Linked DNA regions of Homo sapiens: region 2 is linked to region 1. Evidence: promoter capture Hi-C in 16 types of primary human blood cells and fetal thymus (Javierre and others, 2016). All regions are on one chromosome and are shown on one strand. Each heading gives the region's core, a stretch centred on a gene start or on the middle of the fragment in contact. The rest is flanking DNA. Distances are from core to core; before and after follow the strand shown. Region 1 holds the start of FBXO4 (F-box protein 4). Region 2 overlaps OXCT1 (3-oxoacid CoA-transferase 1).

Evidence for each region. The method cuts DNA at HindIII sites, captures the fragments that hold promoters and counts their contacts. A CHiCAGO score of 5 or more calls a contact.
Region 2: a contact is called between a fragment that was not itself captured here and the fragment with the promoter of FBXO4 in region 1, in 2 of 17 cell types (naive CD4 T cells and activated CD4 T cells). The highest score is 6.3, in naive CD4 T cells.

What each region holds. Positions count from the first base shown.
Region 1 is chr5:41,923,990-41,926,689 of GRCh38, reverse strand. FBXO4 (F-box protein 4) reads right to left here and starts at 1,409. Exons shown (of 7, transcript NM_012176.3): 1 at 1,192-1,409. The coding sequence starts at 1,380. RefSeq lists a silencer at 972-1,151. The HindIII fragment of the contact is 6,278 bases long and covers 1-2,700 here.
Region 2 is chr5:41,850,527-41,853,226 of GRCh38, reverse strand. All of the region lies in intron 4 of OXCT1 (3-oxoacid CoA-transferase 1), which reads left to right. Among named protein-coding and RNA genes, the nearest start is that of OXCT1-AS1, 18 kb to the left of the region's middle. The HindIII fragment of the contact is 5,487 bases long and covers 1-2,700 here.

The DNA of each region.
Region 1 (2,700 bases), core at 160-2,659:
AGTTACATAAATTAGTTAAGGAAATAATTTGTCCTTCAAAATAAAACCCATATCAACCTTTATCTGATTTTATCATCAGACCAAATCAAAGAGTGTACATTTGTCTTTTTCTTTTTTGAGACACAGTCTCGCTCTGTCGCCCAGGCTGGAGTGCAGTGGCAAGATCTCGGCTCACTGCAAGCTCCGTCTCCCAGGTTCACGCCATGCTCCTGCCTCAGCCTCCCAAGTAGCTGGGACTACAGGCGCCTGCCACCAAGCCCGGCTAATTTTTTATATTTTTAGTAGAGACGGGGTTTCACCGTGTTAGCCAGGATGGTCTTGATCTCCTGACCTCGTGATCCGCCCACCTGGGTCTCCCAAAGTGCTGGGATTACAGGCGTGAGCCACCGCGCCCGGCCGTAAATTTGTCATCTTAGTTCCTCTACAGAATCTATTAAAATGTTATGAAAAACCTCTGCAAGGAGAAACTTGGAGGCATTCTAAACCTGCAGCTTTCACGTTGATATACACATTGGAGAGAGGTGTCAATAGTCCAAATGAGACAAAGAATTGTAATAATTTTCAATAATTTTTGTTCTCTTCATTTACCTATCTACCCCAAAGTTTAACAATAAGTTATGTGTGTCATTCTCGTGGCCTTGATGTAACTTGAGGCACTTGTAACTTAAGTCATTTATTTTCAACTGAGGGGCCGTTTTGTTTCTTCAAATACACAATAACAGCCACAGGCACAATGTCCTCTTGAGAGGGTAAAAACCTTGGCCCTCCAAGTGTTTTGGTACAGTGATCCGGAATCAAAGACGCTGGGAACAGGGACGCTGGAATGCTTTCCCAAGCTAATCAGCAAGTTGGGAACTGTCTCATTTCCGTAACCGGACATTCAGGGTGTCCTAGTCACATGTGCCTGTTTTGGCGGGTGGAAAACCTGAGGGCGATCGGGAGGGTCCCCAGGGGCCCCATGAAGGTGCTTCCCTGAGATGTTCGGGCCCCCTGCGGAGCACCAGGGTCCACGCCAAGACGCTTCTGATCAACTGTAGCTTCTCGGTGACTACACTGCCAGGAATGGCTGCATGGACGGAGCCAGACCCAGGCCGGGGCGCGAGAGTTCCCCAGGCCCCGGGGGGCTCCAGGGGAGGTCCCTCCGGCCCGGGCCGGCCCCACTGTCCTCCGCGGCCTGCGGCCGACGCTCACCGGCAGCCGCGTCAGGGTGCTGGCCGCCTCATCCACCTCCTCCCGTGAGGTCGTACGCGCCACCCTCTCCTTGCTCACTGACTGCCAGAAGGTCTTCCAGCCGCTGAGGATGGCCGCCTCCAGGCGGCCCCAGTCGCTGAAGGGCGGCGGCGGCGAGTTTGTTCCGCTGCGCGGCTCGCTTCCCGCCATGGCTTGCCCGCAGCGTGGGTGACGCGTCTTAGAGCCACGCTAGCGCGTCAGCCTCCTGCGCAGCTCCGCGCCAGCCGAGGGCGCCCTCGGGCGTTCCGCCTCCCGCTTCTCCCGCGAGTCCGCCTCCAGGGCAGGGTTAGGCCCAGGGGCAAGGGCGGGTACTGGGAGGAAGCCCACTGTGCGTGGCTGTGAGCCGAGTACGAAGCTCCTGTCAACAATTAACTTCCCCAGTAACTTGTGGCCTCAACCTCAGCCACGCCAACCGCAGAGCCCCTGTACAACCTCTGGCCCGCTGACTTCCTGGCTTCATTCAAGATGTTCTCTCCGGGATCATTTCCACTATGCCTGGTCCTAGGCGACTCCGCTTGTTCGATAGACCTCTGCCACTGTCTTGGGCTTAATAACCACTTGCTTCCTTTTCAGCACTACCATACTACGTATGGGGTGTTTTTTGTGTGTGTTATTTCCTCAATCACCAAGTTACCATTTATTTTCTTGAGTATCAGCAAAAACAGACTAGAGAGGCAGTCAGCGGGCCAATTACAAAGAACCTTTTGCCAAAATGAGAAGTCTGGACCCACTATGCAAAAATATAAGCACATTTAAAATTTGCAAGGGCGGCAAAAAACGGCTAGAAGAACCCAGATGTGGTGGTGTTGAAATCCCACTAGTGAGTTTTTTAATTCTCAAACCAGATGCCCATTCTACTTACTTTGGGCTTACTTTAAAAGTGCTTTAAGAGAACGTATTACAAGTTAATCTGTTACATAGAACTGGGTATGTATACATTCAAAAAGTAAATCTCTGAGGATCTAAATGTCAACAGAATCCAAGAAAGCCTGATAACTAAGGTTCTGCAAGGCTCTGTAACATACAAGTTTAAGTTTCATTACATTTTATTATTTGCATGTTGTTGGTAGGGGCCAATAACCAATAAAATTGCAGCCTCGTTTTTGGGAGGCAATCTGGACAAGGACCACGGATTAACCATATGGCATTTCTCATCACTTTCTAGGACACGATTTACTTTGAGAGCAAAAAACGAACTAGAGCAAGAAAAAAAATCAGTTCAAGTATAAAGTATTAAAATGATATCTGTTAAATGAATGAGAAAAACTTTATTACGGAAAATTTTGAACATTTATAAAAGGAGAGTGAATAATATGCTCCTGTGTGCCCAGTATCCAAGATTCCATTACCAACACCTGGTTAATCTTGTGCTGTTGCTATACTCACCTAATACTACACCCCCAATTCTGGATCCTTTTGAAACAAATCCCAGACCTATCATCTGTAAATATCTCAGTATCCGTCCCTAAA
Region 2 (2,700 bases), core at 154-2,653, 73 kb after region 1:
GAGATATTTCTAAAAGATATCCAGGCTGCAAGATAAGATTTTAAGTTTGGCACTGTAATGTGTATTGTGCCAGAAGCATACAAAAGGATTTGCTGGAATGTTTGAGAATCATCCTAAAAAGTTAATTTATAGGAATTTATTTTTATTTTTTTTTTTGAGGCAGAGTCTTACTGTGTCACCCAGGGTGGAGTGCGGCGGTGTGATCTCGGCTCACTGCAAACTCCACCTCCCGAGTTCAAGCAATTCTCCTGCCTCGGCCTCCTGAGAAGCTGAGATTTGAGATTACAGGCATGTGCCACCACGCCCAGCTACTTTTGTTTTCTGTATTTTTAGTAGAGACGGGATTTCACCATGTTGGCCAGGCTGGTCTCGAACTCCTGACCTCAAATGAGCCGCCTGCCTTGGCCTCACAGGTGTAAGCCACCATGCCTCTCCAATTTCTATGAATTTTAGAACTAGAAATTTATGGGTGATCTGGTCTTGCTGAGACACTTCAGAGTGAAGCCCTTGAAAGGTGCATGTGACTATATCTGAGTAAGTGCTGGGATCAGAACCTAGATTCCCAGGGAACTGATGTTACTACAAAGCAAGCAGTTACTATAATTAATCTAGCAACTTTTCACTCATTTTCTATGTCATCTCTTAACTAATTGGAGTTATTCATAAAGAAAGGAAAACTTTCTGAAATCTTTAAGTAAAATGAGGGTCTACAGTTTGCTCTTCTTTCATTTTGACATGCTCTGCTCTCAGCTCTTGAACTGAGCCACTCCGCTTTATTTTAGTCAACAGAAAATATTGCTACTGACTTTGCCAAGTTGGTAATAACATAATTTAGTAGATTTTTAAAAATTAGTAATGAAATCATGGTGTGTTTGTCTAGAAAGCACACATGGGAACTATTCTGAGGCTCGTGTTGCAGTCACACCTGGTCACTCTATAGCACCGTTACCTGTACATACCATAGCATTGCACTGGGCTTGGTATTTACTCAATTTTCTCAGTTTTTTGAAAAAACAAAAACAAAAAAAACAAAGATGTCTTAGTCTGCTCAGGCTGCTATAACAAAATATCACAGACTGGTGGCTTAAACAACAGAAGTTTCTCACAGTTCTGAAGGCTTGGAAGTCCTCCTTGGCTTGCAGATGGCCGACTTCTCACGGTTCTTGCATGGCGGAGAGCATGCATGCTCACTCTCTGGGTGTCTCTTCTTGTAGGAACACTAATCATACCAGATCAGGGCCCAACCTTTTTGACTTCCTTCAACCTTGATGACCTCCTTATAGGCCCTATCTCAATACAGTCACACTGGTGACTAGGAATTCAACATATGAATTTTGGGGAGAACACAGTTCGGTCCATAGCAGTATTTTTCACATGGTAGGTTAAGATACAGTATTCTTTGGGTTGTGGAACTATTGAAAATTAACCTTTTGATTACCCTTGGTATCTTTTATGTTACTCCTTATTTCGTCAGAAAGTACGTACATCATTAATATATCATTTTTTTTTTTACAGTTTTTCCTCAGGCTAAGAGAGGTCAGTGTCTCCTTCCCCAACTTAGTGGCCCGTTAGTAAACACTGGCTCTGGCAGCTTATTTTGCAGCCTGAAGGCTAGGGGGAGGAGTATCGATGGTGGGGATCAGGAGTTCTTTGGTGGGTGAGGGTAAGGAGCTGGTGGCACCTACAGAAGGCCTATCTGCAGAAATAGTCCACTTTCAGGCCCTTACCTGGTATGATAGAAGGAGAGTATTCAGGGAGGGTATATATAAAACATATTTTAAGGCAAGGGGTAGTGTTATGGTAATTTTGATGATTTAATTTTTTGTAAATGTTACTAACTTCACAACACAAGGTAGAGTCATCTCTTTCCGTTGGCTAGATAATCAGTTATCTGGAAGATTTTCAGTTATACCCCAAGTCTCTGTTTCCCCAGAATATTCCACCTACTTGAATGACTCAATGTCTCAAGTCCCAACTGTTAGTTTCTTTTTTGAGTTGAATACTTAGAGTCCTGTTAAAGTAGAAAATACTTTTTAAGGTTGGGACAATATGAACACATCATCATTAATACCATGAACCAATTCTTTTTTTTCTTAAAGAGGCAGATCTCATTATGTTGCCCAGGCTGGACTCAAACTCCTGGCCTCAAGTGATCCTTCACCTCCCAAAGCACTGGGATTTACAGGCATGAGCCATGGTGTCCAGCCCCAATTTTTAACTACTGACTAGCCAGTCAGTTTTCTAGTAAGACTGTTGTAACAAGTCTATCACAGTAGGCGTCAAGGTTAGGAAGGGTGTCAAGGTTCAGGGCCAGAGTTGATTCCTTAGGGAAAACCTGGGTAGAAAAACAGTTGAGAGTGAGAGAGCCAGGGAAACTAGTCTTGAAATCACTGGTACCTAGGAAGAAGAGTCACCCATCGGAAAGATGATGATCAAAAGAAGATACAAAGTAACTTTGCTTGCAGCTGTTTCTACTCTGAAACAATTTGATGTACTCTTGGCTTTTAAAAACCAATTTACCAGTATGCTGTATTTTTCACTTTGTTTTTTTTCTTAGACGATTTGTAGATAAAAATATTTATGAAAATGGTTTAAAATAAGCTCTAAAATTTAAACACTTTACATTATTAACTTGAATAAAATTTAGGCCATACCAACATAGATCATGAAATAAAACAAAATTTAACTGCATTACTTAAT